Regions from separate parts of the Homo sapiens genome. Here all the other regions are linked to region 1. The links are contacts of gene promoters, found by promoter capture Hi-C in blood cells and fetal thymus (Javierre and others, 2016). All regions are on one chromosome and are shown on one strand. Each heading gives the region's core, a stretch centred on a gene start or on the middle of the fragment in contact. The rest is flanking DNA. Distances are from core to core; before and after follow the strand shown. Region 1 holds the start of MIR1-1HG (MIR1-1 host gene). Region 2 holds the start of BHLHE23 (basic helix-loop-helix family member e23). Region 3 overlaps COL9A3 (collagen type IX alpha 3 chain). Region 4 overlaps OGFR (opioid growth factor receptor).

Region 1 (3,674 bases), core at 451-2,950:
TGCAGGCCTGGCCTGCCCCCCTCAACCCTGCCTGGAGACGGCAGGCAGGAGGAAGTGGGCTGCAGGGGAGGGGCCTTGCAGGGGGAGTTTGGACACCACACCTCACACCACGCTCTCCCGCTGCCAGTGGGAAGCCGAGTGGCTATTTAGTTTCCAGAAAAGTGCTCAGACCAGGTAGAAGCTTAAAACCTCCTGGCCTCCTTTATGGTGAGACATGGGGTCTTTAGCGGGGCGTACAGGGCTGGGAGAAGGGCCTGGCATCACTCAAGAAGCCTCTGCACTGGGCAGGTGCAGGGGGCGTCCCTCTGTCCCTCGCTGTCGCTGGCCGGAGGACACCAGAGTGGGTGTCGGCGTGTGTGGCGAGTGTGGCTGGGGCTCCGGCTTCTCCCCATGACTCTGCAGAGCCGGCCTTGGGATGTGGGGAAGGGGCCGTGAGCCCAGGAGGTGAACCTGGAGGAGAGCCCTGCCTCAGCTCCTGTGGGCCAGCCTGGGGGGTGTGCAGGCTCCTCAGGGGCTCCCCTGGGATTAGATGCAGCTGAGCCTGTTCTGAGCGGCATAGACTCCCCGGCCCTGTGTCCCTAACTGGCCAGAACCACAAGGGGATGCCTTCCTAAGTCCGGGAGGCACTGGGGACATTTATGAGGTGGCTTCTGAACAGGAGGACCTATGCTCTGGACAGGACTCACAAATACCAAAGCTCATTGTCCCCATCACACGGGCCTGTGCCTGCCACCAACGAGCGGGGTCCCCGGACCACTGTGGTCCACTGTCATTCCACGACCTGGTCCCCAGTCCTGTGGGGCCCCAGAGAGATGGGACGACCAGCCAGCGTCACACAGCCTGTGAGGACAGTCTGCCAGTTCAGGCCTCTGGTCTCTGCGTCCAGGCCCTGCAAGGACAGATCCCCGTCAGGCCCCGTCCCAGGCCCTCGTCTGTTACATAATTCGGGCGTGAAATCCCGGAAGGGGGAGCTCCTGAGCCCGTCCAGCACCCGGGATTGGGGTCTCCCCATCACACACCCTTGGTGGCAGGGCCTGGCTGGGGGCGGCAAGCAGGTTGACCTTGCCTCTGTCCAAGGCGACTGGCATTTGTCATGACTTGGGGTTGGCTTGAGAGTCTCCGGAAACCCAGGTGGCTCTGTCACCACCTGATCCTGGCCCCAATTCTAGGCAAAAGGGCAGAGCCGATGGGACTGTGGAGGGGGCCACCCACTCCTGGTGGCCTGGGTGGGCTCAGCCCACTGGAGGCTCAGAGCAGCGAAGGAGGCCGTACCATTCTGCCCGCCCCCCCCACCCCCGGCCCTGCAGCCTGGGAGATGCCCGGGTCTCCCCAGGGCACCCTAGGAGCCGGCTGGCATGGCATGGAGGCTGCTGCCCGGCTACTGAGGAGGCGCCTCTGTACTGGCTGGGCTAAAAATAGCGGGGGGATCTCGGGCAGGGACAGCCGGTGGGAGGCCTGTCAGGGAGGGGCCGGGAGGGGCAGGACAGCAGCCTGAGCCCGGGACCCGCCGTCAATGGCGTGGGTGCTCCCACCCTGTTCCCGGTGGCCGGGCCAGCCGCGGCCCAGCTGACAGGCTATTTTTTCCCCTGCTTGACTAAATATGGTCAGGGAGCGCAGCCCGAGGGGGCCACTTGGCCAGGGCCGCGTGTTTGGGATGCTTGGCCGGGTATATAAGAACTGCAAAGGTGAGGCCGGCTCCTGACCCGAGGGGGGCCCCCACGCCCGCTCTGGCCTCTCAGGTCAGGCCCTCCCCTCCCCTCCCCTCCCCTCCCCCGCCCCTGTGTCTCCGCGAGCCGGCTGTGTGCCTGCGAGAGCGTGCACACCCGCGGGACCTTCCCTTTTGTTCCACCCTGACCTCTACCTTCTCTACCTTGTGCTGACCCCGCTGGGGTGCAGGGGTTCCCTTCGGAGGAGGCCGGGGCTCAAGGTGTGCAGCTCGGCCGCCTCTCCCTAACTCTGCACCAGCGCCTTCTCTCTCTCTCTCTCTCTCTCTCTCTCTCTCTCTCTCTCTCAAGATCTCCCTCCTGCTAAGTCTGCGCTGCTGCAGGAGGGCTGGGGGAAGGGCAGGGGTGTGGAGAGGGGGTGCCTGGTGTCTTCTTTCTCTCTCTGCCCCCACCAAGTGCGGACGCATCGAGCTTCGGCCCCCACCCCTGCATTCGCGATTGGCTCCCGGAGGAGGTGGCTGGTGCTGCCGCCGCTGCAGCATCTCCTAGGGAGCCGCGACCCTGCGCCCGCCGCCGCTGCCGCTGTCACCAGCCCGGCCCCAGGGGTGCCCTGGGCTCCGCGGTGAGTCCTGCTCAGCCCATCACCACCGCTGGGCCGCCGGGACGGCCCCTGCAAACTTGCCGGGCACCGCGGTGGGGGGTGTGCCTGCCAGCGAGGTGGGTGCTGCGGGTGCCGGCGCCGTGCGGCTCCGGCGGGGGTGCCGTGGAGTTTTCTCTTGGCTCGCGGCATCATCCACATTTGGAAAACTGCAGAGCCAGCAGCCGGCAGGGCCTGGAGGGCGCGTCCAGCTGGGAGGCAGGAACTTTGACTTGCGGGCATTTTGCAAGAAAGCAGCGGCCCCCCACGCGGGCAGTGGATGGCATGGGGGCTTCGGGGCTGGGCTGGGGGCGCGATTCACCTGCCGCTCCGCAACAAAGCCCCGGCAGCCGGGCGTGGGGCTAAACTTACCTTGAACTTGCAGTATCCCCCACTGAGGTGCTGGTGGGGGGCAGGGATTCCCGAGCTGAGCGGCGGCGAGGCTGCCCCCGGCCGGGACTCGGCACTTCTGCAGCTCTCCCAGCCACGTCAGGGTCAGGAGGCGTTTACAGGGGCAGGGCGGCGAGGTGGGGGGCGGGGGGCACATGTGGGCGGAGACTAGGGGGGCTTCGGGGAGAGCAGCCCTGGTGGTCGGCGTCTGTGCAGGTCCCTGCTGGGGAGCTTGACTTCCCGCGTGGCCTCCCGCGGCGCTGATGCCGGGGGCCGGGCGGTATTCACCGCTGAAGAGCCCCGGAGGAGGCCCCGGGCACAGGAGCCAGCTCGGCTCACGGTGGGGTCTGCTTGGAGGCGGCTGGGTGCTCTTTTTCTATGCAGACGGGAAACTTTTTGAAAAGTGACTACAATTCATTTGTGAGTGGGCAGAAGTCCTGTGGACTCTGGCTGGGTCTGGGGTGACTCTCCTGCCCTTTGGGACTCCCAGCTTTCCCCTTGACCCCCAGACCCCGTCCAGATGAATGCCTCACAGGTCGTGGGGGCTTGAGCCAGGCTGCGGGAGTGTCCCAGGCTCTGAGAGCTCATGTGCCAGGGAGCTGGGGACGTTGAGGAGGCCTTTTCCCTGGACTCCGGGGACGGTTATTGCGGAGGTCTTGGGAGGGCACAGATGAGCGGCGGAACCCAGGTGCCCCCGAAGTTGAAGCTCAGGCTGCGGTGTCGGGTGCCCTTTTTGTATCCTTGGCTACGTGAAAATGATAAATCACAGCAGCTACGTGGAAATGGGACATCAGCTTCTGCTTCTGTCTGCCATTTGCTCCTTCCTTTGTAGAGGGGATGCCTCCAGAGCCTTAAGCACAACCCCCACCCCCCGCCCCCACCCACCCCCACGTGAAACTCCAACCCAGCCATGCCCAGCTGCAGACCCACTGCCACACAGCCACAGCATGCTCAGTGGCCTCTGCACACTGCAGGCTCTGCGG
Region 2 (3,674 bases), core at 565-3,064, 460 kb after region 1:
GCTAGACGGGGCCCTCCCCTGACCGTCAGGGTTAAGTAGGGCGCGGGCTGTGAGGACCCTCCTCCACGCAGCCCCCCGAGGCAGAGGGCCCGCAAAGCGGTCTCCATCCAACTCCACCCCGCGGACGTCCCAGGCAGCGGATGGCGGCGGGGGGGGGAGGCCAGGGGACATTTAGGGGACAAATTCCTCAGACTTCGAGGCAGCCGGCGACGGCGTCCAATTCCCAAATAAATAGAACAAACTCCTACTTGGAAAAGGCCTTCCCCGGGGTCTTCCTGCGCCCGCGGTCCAGCTCCTCTGCAGACGGCCATCGTGGGCTCTCCGCAGGGCTGCGGAGTCTCGGAGTCACCGAGGTGGGAGGTGCCGGCCACGCGCGTCCTCAGGAACAGAGCACTGCCCTGCAGTTTAGCACGAAGGGCCGGCTGGAGCGGGAGCGCGAGGCCCACTGCAAGAGGATCAGGAGCCAGTAAGTCCGGCTTTTCTTCGTCTCCACCTTTCGTGCGCCCGGGGCCAGGACCGCCTGTCCGGAATCTGACCAGTGCCCGTCCTCGCCGTGGCCCTGGGACCCCGCGGTGGTCTTCTTTTGGGGACGAACGGCAGTGCCCGAAGGATGCTCTACCCACCCCCGTTCCTAGACTTGCTGGGTCCCGACAATACCCAGTGGGTGCCGCGAGTTCCCGGGCGCAGAGTCCAGCGTCCGGCTCTCGAGCTCAATCCCGCGCCCCGACGGCCTTGGCGCTTCCCGCTGCGCTAAACTGTCCACCGCGCACAGGCTGGAAGCGAAGTCGGGCCCCCTCCTCCTGGTCTGCAGGGTCCCTCCAGGCCTTTCCTGTCCGGGCAGAGAGACAGTCACAGGGGCGATCGGAGGACGCGTGCGGGAGGGCCGGGGGCCCGCGCGGTCACGGCTTCTCGTGACAGTGTTTGCAAAGCGCGGAGGGCGTCCCGGAGAAGGCGGCGCACTTGTCAGGGCAGGGCCCCAGGGCGGCGCCTGCGGAGAAGGGGCACACAGTGGCCTGGCCGAAGGGCGTCAAGGGCGCGGCGTTTACGGGCGCGGCCAGGCCCTGGCCCTGGTTGAGGAAGGCCACCAGGCGCCGCATCTCGTCCAGGGCCTGCGCCTGCATGAGGATATAGTTCTTGGCGAGCAGCAGCGTGGCGATCTTGGAGAGCTTGCGCACCGACGGGCTGTGCGCGTAGGGGATGACGGCTCGCAGCCCGTCCAGCGCGTCGTTTAGGTCGTGCATGCGCCGCCGCTCGCGCGCGTTGATGCTGAGCCGCAGAGACCGCTGCTCTCGCGGCCGCCGCCGCCCGTCCGCCGCGCTCCCTGGCCCGCGCCGCCGCCGCCGCTGCTCGAAGGCGTCGTCCTCGTCCCCGCTCTGTTCGCCGCTGCTCTCCGCCGCCTGAGCTGGGGCGCGAGGTGCAGGCGCCGCGGGGAGGTCGCCGCCCGGGCCCGGAGTGCCGTAGCCGCGGGCCGCTTCGGGTTCTCGCGCCGCCCCGTAGGCGAGACCCGCAGCCGCCGCCGCGTAGCCGTGGCTTAGTGCCAGGTACGCGTCCCCCGACAGCGACTTGAGCTCGGCCATGGCCGCGCCGCCTGGGCTCGGGGGCTCGCCGGGTGGGCGGATGCTCATGTGGGTGAGCAGCCCCCGAGGCCGGCCCGAGCCCGCCGCTGCCGCTGCCGCTGCGATGAGGCTCCCGGCTCTGCGCGTCGGTCTGGCTTGCCTGCGGGTCCCAGAGCCTCGGCGCCCGCTGCCTCCTCCGCCTCTTCCTTCTCTCCCACCTCCTCTCCCTCCCAGCCGCGACGCGCAGGGGGCGGGCTCTACCTCCCCCTCGCCCCCGCTTCGGTTTTAAGCCGCGGAGGCGCCCGGTGGGACCTCGCTGCTGTCCAATCAGGGGGGACCGGGTGAGCTCCTCTTCCTGGAGCCGGGCTCCACCAGCGCCGCAGGCTCACAGGCCGGGGGTGGGGGCTCTGGACCGAGGGGCGGCGCGGGGCGGCGCGGGGCGGCGCGCGCGGTCCTGGAGCGCTAGTACTTGCTTCTCGACTCCCCGGCCGCCGCCTCCGGCCGCCCCGGGGATTCCGCCACCAAACGCACGCGTCCCAGGTGGGCACCCGCCTCGGTCCGTCTTTGAGTCTGACCCTAGCGCAAGAGTCCCTGGCGACACGCAGGGGCCAGAGCGGGGGGGCGCGCCGCAATAGCAGCAGCGCCAGCGCCAACACCCTGTCCCGCTGAGGGGCCGCTTCGGGTCGGGGTCAGGGTCGTGGGCGCTCTGGTGCAGCCGCGGCGCAGCGTGTACCCGGAGCCCGCACACTCCCTGCTCGGGGCGCCCTGTGGCCAGGCTTGAGGGGCAGAGTGAGAGGGAGTTTCTAGAACCTGTTGAAAAACGCCACGAGCGTTGCAGGCCGGGGAGGGCGGGAAGGTGGAGGGCAGCGCGGCCTGGGGCTCCCCGGGGGTGGGAGGGGAGCTCTGTGAGCTGCAGGACCGCCTCTTCCCTGCCAGCCGCTTCCTGGGCATCTATCAGCGAAACGCGTGAGGCTTGGTGGGCTTTCCCGGAGCCTCCGAACCCCTGGGGTCCAGCCACACTGGATGGGAATGTGGCCAGCCTCGGACTCGCCTTTTCAGTCCTCTTCCAACCCCGCATGAAGGCCAGAACCCCAGCCCTTCTCCCAGGTGGGAACCTGCCTGGAGGCCCGGCCGAGTGCTGAGGCTAGAGTGTGCTGAGGGATAGTGGCTTCTCCGGTCCTGGCTTGGGTGGGAGACTGGGCCACCCTGGCCTATGGCACGAGGTGGAGCGGCCCGTCGGGCCCTTCTGTGTGACCTGGGAAGGGCCGCATACCCTCCCTGTTCTCCAGGCTCCGCCCCAGGAGGAGCCACAGCGATGGGGCAGTGTGCGCAGCCCCGGGAGGGGAGTGGGAGCTGCACGTGTGTGGGGCGGATGTGCTGTCTGGAAGGTTCTGGGAACGCAGCAGTGACCGGCCTGTCCGGTGGTTCCCTGCCAGGTGCGGGGTGTGAGGAGACAGATGCATGGATAAGTCTCCGTGGGAAACTCAGGCCTTTGTCCTGGCGGAGGGGAATGGGTCTGAGGCAGCCTCTGCCGGGCTGGCGGCCTGTCTGGCTGCGCGTCCTGCAGCACCGGCCTCACCCCCAGCACACGCCCGCCAGGAGCGCAGGGGCCCCGAGGATGGAAGCGTCTGTCTGAGGCGCTGTCCTGGGACCCCACCCCGCCTTCGGGGCTGATGCACAGACCGGGAATTGAGGATACCTGGTGTGGAGGAGGCCGCTGTGTTTGGGCCTGGGTCTGAAGGGTGAGTGGGTGTCATTGTGGCCACGGGCCGGGGTCGGGGGAGCATTCAGGTGGCCGGAGGAGGCCTGGCACAGGGAAGGGCAGTGAGGGGCCCGGGTGGGGCCAGGAGATAGAGGGGCGGGACCAGGCCTGTGGGACAGTTTGAATCACGCGGGGAGTTTGGTCTTTATGGGAAGAAAGGCGCCGTGGCCATTCGGAGAGCCACTCTGGCACTGCTGCCGGTGCGGTCCGGGGCTGCGGGGCCTCCTCCTGGGCCTGAACTGCAGGGCTGGTGGGGGCCATGGGGGAAGGTGGCTCCACAGGTCCCCGGAGCTGGGGGAGCAGGAGGATGGGGTTGACCAGGAGGGAAAGCTATGGAGCTGGAGAATGCAGGAGGC
Region 3 (3,674 bases), core at 863-3,362, 290 kb after region 1:
TCCTGGGTTCAAGCGATTTTCCTGCCTCAGCCTCCTGAGTAGCCAGGATTATAGGCCCTCCCACAGTCGACTAATTTTTTGTGTTTTGGGGGGTTTTGTTTGTTTTTTTTTGAGATGGAGTCTCGCTCTTTCGCCCAGGCTGGAGTGCAGTGACGCCATCTCGGCTCACTGCAACCTTCCCAGTTCAAGCGATTCTCCTGCCTCAGCTTCCTGAATAGCTGGGATTACAGGCGCCTGCCACCACGCCCAGCTAATGTTTGTATTTTTAGTAGAGACAAGGTTTCACCATGCTGGCCAGGCTGGTCTCGAATTCCCGACCTCAGGCAATCTGCCCGCCTCGGCCTCCCAAAGTGCTGGGATTACAGGTACGAGCCACCGCCCCTGGCCTAATTGTTGTATTTTTAGTAGAGACGGGGTTTCACCATGTCGGCCAGGCTGGTCTCAAACTCCTGACCTCAGGTGATCCACCTGCCTCAGCCTCCCAAAGTGCTGGGATTACAGGCGTGAGCCGCCGTGTCAGGCCCACAGCTGGTTTTTAACTGAAGAAAACTCCACTTCCACAGGCCTAAAACTCAGGTGAAGCATAAAATTACGTTCTTGTTTGAGTCCCTTGATAGGCACATTTCTCCTTCTGGAGGTAACAAATGGAGCAGTCGTGAGTCCGAGGGAAGGACGGCCTTTCTGGCTTTCCCGAGGGGGGTTTTCATCTATGATTAAGTCTTTCCTTTGCGTCTGGGTGAAATAGAAACAGCCTAGCCCCAGGGACCCCAGTCTCTGGCAGACCCCCACAGCCCAGTGTAAACTTTTTATGCCTGGGGACAAAAGACCTCAGTTGTATGTGTTTCATTTAGTGAATTCTTTTTTTATTTTTTTTTGAGACGGAGTCTTGCTCTGTCCCCAGGCTGGAGTGCGGTGGTGTGATCTCAGCTCACTGCAATCTCTGCCTCCTGCGTTCAAGCGATTCTCCTGCCTCAGCCTCCCGAGTAGCTGGGACTACAGGTGCCCACCATCACACCCGGCTAATTTTTGTATTTAGTAGAGATGGGGTTTCACCATGTTGGCCGGGCTGGTCTCAAACTCCTGACCTTGTGATCCGCTCGCCTTGGCCTCCCAAAGTGCTGGGATTACAGGCGTGAGCCACCTCGCCCAGCCCATTTAGTGAATTCTTAGACAACACTGACAAATGGACCCTGGAAATCCCAGAAGCTGCCCTACGTGGCCACTGTTGCTGGTGGGGTGAGGGGCAGAGCCCCTTGCAGGCGGAAAACCTAAGGCTTTGCTCTCAGCTACTCGCACGGTCGGGCTGTGTGAGGTGACCCCCTACCCTCCTGGCCTCCGCGGAGCATGCTGTCTGGGCCCGGTCGGTCCCTCTGCTGTGCGGTTAGACTGTGTCAGTCTGTATTCTGCAGCTGTAACAGAACACCGCAGCTTGGGTAGTTTACAAGGGAAAGAGATCCATGTGGCTCCTAGTTCTGGAGGCTGGGAAGCCCAAGACCGAGGGGTGCATCCATCGAGGGCCTCCCCACTGCGTCATTCCATGGTGGAAGGCAGAAGGGCCAAGAGGAGGTGCCAGAGAGAGAAAGGGGCCCAACCCATCCTTTTCATGAGGAACCCACTGCGGAGACAACGGTGTTAGTTTACTCCGGAGAGCCGAGCTCTCAAACCTAATCACCTCTTAATAGCATTGCAGTGCAGTGGCCGTTCAATTGCAGCATGTGTTTTGGAGGAGACATTAACCCGGCTGACTGTGTGTTGACGCACCTGGGGCCAGTCATTCCTGAGGACCCAGCTGGAGGGGGTTCCAGGGTTTTAGGGCAGAGAGGTTCAGCCCAGCATTAGGCGTGTTAGTAAGAAAAAGGAATGGAAGCAAAGTAAGCGTGTGTAAGAGACAGCACCGTGCAGCTAACAAAGTCACTCTTCCCAGGAAAGTAAGTTTTTAAAAAGCTTCAATCAATCAGTGCAATCACAGAAATATAAAAAATGTATATAGAAGAACGGAAGGAACCACTGTCAATATTTGGATGTAGTCTAATAGCAGGTGTGTGGATGATTTGATTTATTTTATCCTCAACTGGCTACTTCCCACCCACCCAACAATACACTTAGTTCAAACACACAACTTTTCTCTTCACAGGGTCCCAGCGGCCTGGTCGGACCCAAAGGAGAGGTGAGTGCCCGGCGACTGTTCCGATGACACCATCCATGGGCGCCTGCTGGCTTCCTGCCCACCTCTGGGCAACCAGGCAGCCCTGCAGGGCACTGCCCAGATCCGAGATGTAAAAAAGCTTGCTCTGGTCAAGGCTGGGCAAGACGGCTCCGTGCCGGCTGGGAAAGAGCACGTCGGGGTGGCTCTGGGCTCCTGGGCTCGCCCCTGACCCACCTTCCTCTGTTCCTCTGCAGTCTGGCAGTCGAGGGGAGCTGGGCCCCAAAGGCACCCAGGGTCCCAACGGCACCAGCGGTGTTCAGGGTGTCCCCGGGCCCCCCGGTCCTCTGGGCCTGCAGGGCGTCCCGGGTGTTCCTGGCATCACGGGGAAGCCGGGAGTTCCGGTACGTCGCTTTTCCGGCTTTTCCAGCTTTCACAGGGTTGAGATCGTGTTTTTTCCGGAAGGAAGTTACTTTGCGGGGTGACGGTGGGAATGCCTCACCGAGGCTGCCGCCCCCATGCTGACGAATGTGTGGGGTGAATTCCAGGGGAAGGAGGCCAGCGAGCAGCGCATCAGGGAGCTGTGTGGGGGGATGATCAGCGGTAAGTCAGCCACGTGCACCGGCTGCAGCGGGGCCCATCCCCGCCTGGGGGTCCCGTGCCTGGGGCTACACAGAAAGCCTTCGTGCCACTGCTTTCCAGCCAAAGTGAGCCCCTAGCACTCACCCCGCCTGTTAGCCCTTGGGGGTCCACGTCCGCCTTGGCGTCTGCCTGTCCTCTGCGCTAGAGGATGGCCCACGCTCCCGCCCCGGATTCAACCAGATTCCCAGCACGCAGCAGACGCCCTAAAGCCTGCTGAATGCAATGGGTACAAGAACAGCGGAGTGTGCCCCTGTGGCTGGCAGGGCAGGTCCCTAAACACCCCCAAGGGCACTTCCTTCACCTTCCCACTCAGGCTTCTCAGGCTCCAAGGGGTTGGGGGTCCTTTCTAGCTCCAGCATTCATCACCCCAAAGCAGTTAAACCATTTTCCATCAATCAGAAGGAAAACTTGCTTCTGGAAGACAGCACCGTGTAGATATTTTATGCTTTACGTAACAATACTTCTGATGATCCTCTCTCGAGTAAACGCCTGCACCCTTGTTTTCCCAAAGAACAAATTGCACAGTTAGCCGCGCACCTAAGGAAGCCTTTGGCACCCGGGTCCATTGGTCGGCCCGGTCCAGCTGGCCCCCCTGGGCCCCCAGGACCCCCAGGCTCCATTGGTCACCCTGGCGCTCGAGGACCCCCTGGATACCGCGGTCCCACTGGGGAGCTGGGAGACCCCGGGCCCAGAGGTGAGTGTTTGACCCCATGACACGGTCACCCTGCTGTAAAAATCCCTGAGACTGACTTGTTAGTAGGCGCTGCTTCTGGTGCCTGCCATGCGCCCTCAGGGGTAACCCCTGGAACGTGGGGGCCTCTCATGTTTTGGGGCCTAGCGCAGTTAACTCCTTGGTAATCCTGTGGGAACTGGAACATTTTTAACATGT
Region 4 (3,674 bases), core at 1-2,500, 260 kb after region 1:
GGGACCCACGGCCACCCCCACACTCAGGAACCGGGGCTTCAGGGATGGTGCCTGAGCTCTCCAAGGGGGTCTTTTCCAGGTGTTTAAAAGCTCCCAGGAGATCCAGGAGCGGCTTGTCCGGGCCTACGAGCTCATGCTGGGCTTCTACGGGATCCGGCTGGAGGACCGAGGCACGGGCACGGTGGGCCGAGCACAGAACTACCAGAAGCGCTTCCAGAACCTGAACTGGTGAGGCCCGGCTGCTCCCGCCCACCCCCACCCCGGCGCAGAACAGGGCCACGTCAGGTTTCGGGCAGGTCACAGAGCGCTGCTGCAGACGGAGAACTCCAGGGCTGTTTGGGCAATGGACCAAGGCCCTGAGTCCCCTCCTTGCTGCCTGTAGAGCCGGGCGGTCCCTCCCCGATAGGGTTGGTGAGAAGGTAAAGAATGCTCTTCCTGCACCCAGGAGGTGGCAGTCCACATAGAGAAGCAAGCAGGGGTGATGGAGAACCTGCAGGCGGTACAGCCAGTTCTCACAGGGTGTTCGAGGCGCCTGTACCCTGCAGGGGCCCCTTGTGGCTCTCATCCAGCCAGCTCCTCCCCACCAGGGGGACTCGGGGTACAGCCACCCTCTAGGTGATGCGTCAGCATCCCCCTAACCCCCGTGTGTCTAGGGCCCACAGGCCATTTTCACAGGGATGGCATGAGTCCTCCCCTGGGCCCAGAGAGGTAAATGGAGAGAGAGACTGAATCGTGGGCCAGGGTGGGGAGACCTCGTGGAGCCGGGTGGGAGGGCAGGCCAGGGCGGGGTGCGGCCCAGCAGGAGGGGCCCCAGCCATTGACCTCTCCTGACCCGGATCTCTCGCAGGCGCAGCCACAACAACCTCCGCATCACACGCATCCTCAAGTCGCTGGGTGAGCTGGGCCTCGAGCACTTCCAGGCGCCGCTGGTCCGCTTCTTCCTGGAGGAGACGCTGGTGCGGCGGGAGCTGCCGGGGGTGCGGCAGAGTGCCCTGGACTACTTCATGTTCGCCGTGCGCTGCCGACACCAGCGCCGCCAGCTGGTGCACTTCGCCTGGGAGCACTTCCGGCCCCGCTGCAAGTTCGTCTGGGGGCCCCAAGACAAGCTGCGGAGGTTCAAGCCCAGCTCTCTGCCCCATCCGCTCGAGGGCTCCAGGAAGGTGGAGGAGGAAGGAAGCCCCGGGGACCCCGACCACGAGGCCAGCACCCAGGGTCGGACCTGTGGGCCAGAGCATAGCAAGGGTGGGGGCAGGGTGGACGAGGGGCCCCAGCCACGGAGCGTGGAGCCCCAGGATGCGGGACCCCTGGAGAGGAGCCAGGGGGATGAGGCAGGGGGCCACGGGGAAGATAGGCCGGAGCCCTTAAGCCCCAAAGAGAGCAAGAAGAGGAAGCTGGAGCTGAGCCGGCGGGAGCAGCCGCCCACAGAGCCAGGCCCTCAGAGTGCCTCAGAGGTGGAGAAGATCGCTCTGAATTTGGAGGGGTGTGCCCTCAGCCAGGGCAGCCTCAGGACGGGGACCCAGGAAGTGGGCGGTCAGGACCCTGGGGAGGCAGTGCAGCCCTGCCGCCAACCCCTGGGAGCCAGGGTGGCCGACAAGGTGAGGAAGCGGAGGAAGGTGGATGAGGGTGCTGGGGACAGTGCTGCGGTGGCCAGTGGTGGTGCCCAGACCTTGGCCCTTGCCGGGTCCCCTGCCCCATCGGGGCACCCCAAGGCTGGACACAGTGAGAACGGGGTTGAGGAGGACACAGAAGGTCGAACGGGGCCCAAAGAAGGTACCCCTGGGAGCCCATCGGAGACCCCAGGCCCCAGCCCAGCAGGACCTGCAGGGGACGAGCCAGCCGAGAGCCCATCGGAGACCCCAGGCCCCCGCCCAGCAGGACCTGCAGGGGACGAGCCAGCCGAGAGCCCATCGGAGACCCCAGGCCCCCGCCCGGCAGGACCTGCAGGGGACGAGCCAGCCGAGAGCCCATCGGAGACCCCAGGCCCCAGCCCGGCAGGACCTACAAGGGATGAGCCAGCCGAGAGCCCATCGGAGACCCCAGGCCCCCGCCCGGCAGGACCTGCAGGGGACGAGCCAGCCGAGAGCCCATCGGAGACCCCAGGCCCCCGCCCGGCAGGACCTGCAGGGGACGAGCCAGCCGAGAGCCCATCGGAGACCCCAGGCCCCAGCCCGGCAGGACCTACAAGGGATGAGCCAGCCAAGGCGGGGGAGGCAGCAGAGTTGCAGGACGCAGAGGTGGAGTCTTCTGCCAAGTCTGGGAAGCCTTAAGGAAAGGAGTGCCCGTCGGCGTCTTGGTCCTCCTGTCCCTGCTGCAGGGGCTGGGGCCTCCGGAGCTGCTGCGGGCTCCCCTCAGGCTCTGCTTCGTGACCCGTGACCCATGACCCACAGTGCTGGCCTCCTGTGGGGCCACTATAGCAGCCACCAGAAGCCGCGAGGCCCTCAGGGAAGCCCAAGGCCTGCAGAAGCCTCCTGGCCTGGCTGTGTCTTCCCCACCCAGCTCTCCCCTGCGCCCCTGTCTTTGTAAATTGACCCTTCTGGAGTGGGGGGCGGCGGGCAGGGCTGCTTTTCTTAGTCTGATACCAAGCAAGGCCTTTTCTGAATAAATTCATTTGACTTTGAGTCTTTGGTATGGACCGGGGTCCTGTTGGGTGGCTGGTAGGGCTGGTGTCACAGCTGATGTCCCTCCAGGCTCCAGTGGCCTGGCCCGGCGACCGCCTCACATTGCTCCACCAGGTGCCTGTGGGGGCAGAGTGGTGGCCCAGCCCTCCCCACACACCCACTTGGCCACACAGTCCCCAGGCATGAACAGGTGGGCAGGCTGCAGCCTCCCAGAGCCTCTGAAGGTGGAACCGAGGTCCCTCAGCAGGCTTTTGCCACCTGTTCAAGATGAGTCTGGGGCTTCCCTTGGGGTTGGCCGGGGCAGTGCTTGTGCATGGTGGGGTCTGGACCAGGCCTTTCTGCCTGCTGTGATCTGGGATGCGCTGCTGTGCCTCGGGCAGGCTTGGCAGTACTCTCTGGCGGGCCCCTTGGCTCCCTCAGGTCTGGTGGAGCCAGGTGTGCCCCCAGGGCAGTCCCTCCCTGCAGTCTGCCCTTGTCACCCTGGGCCAGGACCCCCCGCTTCCCGGTTCCCCTACATTTCTACATCAGCAGGGTAAGGGGCTTTTTGTGGGGCCTCAGAGGAGGGGCCGGACACTTGTCTTTGCTCAGTGAAGGACAGGGCAGACCTGGGGCACCCCTGGGTGGGAGGGTTAAAGCTGTAGACCCTGGTACCACTTCAGGTAAAATGCCCAGCTCCCATCTGGTGGCACAGGATACACGAGCCGGAAGTCACTGGGAGGAGACACCCGAGGTTCAATAATCCCCCAGAGCTGCGTGGGGAAGCTGTGGGACCCCTGGTGCCTCAAGTGTGGCTCAGGGGATTCCTGCCATGGAGGGAAACTGAGGCAGTGAGCTGGACATAGGGCTAGAAGTGCAGTCACTGGGGCAGCGCCCGGCAGATCCAGCGTCCCCAGTCCAGGCCGTTGTGGGGCTGGAGTCGGTGAAAATCAGCGCCTGAAGTGAGGAGCCTGTTGGAGCAGCCCTGGGGGCCGATGCCTGGCGGTGGGCACCTGGGGACAGCAGGCAGTGCTGGCCAGCCAACCCGGGCTTCAGGGAGAGTGATGACCCACAACAGGC

The links. Contacts are between HindIII fragments. The CHiCAGO score rates a contact against its expected background, and 5 or more counts as called.
Region 2: the fragment with the promoter of BHLHE23 here is called in contact with the fragment with the promoter of MIR1-1HG in region 1 in 7 of 17 cell types (neutrophils, erythroblasts, activated CD4 T cells and 4 more); the score reaches 13.0 in neutrophils.
Region 3: a fragment that was not itself captured here is called in contact with the fragment with the promoter of MIR1-1HG in region 1 in 1 of 17 cell types (total CD8 T cells); the score reaches 5.2 in total CD8 T cells.
Region 4: a contact is called between a fragment that was not itself captured here and the fragment with the promoter of MIR1-1HG in region 1, in 3 of 17 cell types (naive CD8 T cells, neutrophils and total CD8 T cells). The highest score is 7.0, in naive CD8 T cells.

Annotation. Positions count from the first base shown.
Region 1 is chr20:62,548,753-62,552,426 of GRCh38, forward strand. MIR1-1HG (MIR1-1 host gene) reads left to right here and starts at 1,701. Exons shown (of 4, transcript NR_171007.1): 1 at 1,701-2,286. CRMA (cardiomyocyte maturation associated lncRNA) reads right to left here and starts at 2,809. Exons shown (of 7, transcript NR_033263.1): 1 at 2,674-2,809. RefSeq lists an enhancer at 1,788-2,663. The HindIII fragment of the contact is 7,236 bases long and covers 180-3,674 here.
Region 2 is chr20:63,005,150-63,008,823 of GRCh38, forward strand. It overlaps BHLHE23 (basic helix-loop-helix family member e23), which reads right to left and starts at 1,815. Exons shown (of 1, transcript NM_080606.4): 1 at 778-1,815. The coding sequence starts at 1,625. The coding sequence ends at 900. RefSeq lists enhancers at 1,534-2,239, 2,240-2,947. The HindIII fragment of the contact is 10,733 bases long and covers 1-3,674 here.
Region 3 is chr20:62,833,787-62,837,460 of GRCh38, forward strand. It overlaps COL9A3 (collagen type IX alpha 3 chain), which reads left to right. Exons shown (of 32, transcript NM_001853.4): 27 at 2,135-2,167; 28 at 2,401-2,547; 29 at 2,692-2,746; 30 at 3,297-3,479. Among named protein-coding and RNA genes, the nearest start is that of COL9A3, 19 kb to the left of the region's middle. RefSeq lists enhancers at 1-479, 2,003-3,202. The HindIII fragment of the contact is 341 bases long and covers 1,943-2,283 here.
Region 4 is chr20:62,811,383-62,815,056 of GRCh38, forward strand. It overlaps OGFR (opioid growth factor receptor), which reads left to right. Exons shown (of 7, transcript NM_007346.4): 6 at 80-228; 7 at 848-2,618. The coding sequence ends at 2,267. Among named protein-coding and RNA genes, the nearest start is that of COL9A3, 3.8 kb to the right of the region's middle. The HindIII fragment of the contact is 7,148 bases long and covers 1-3,674 here.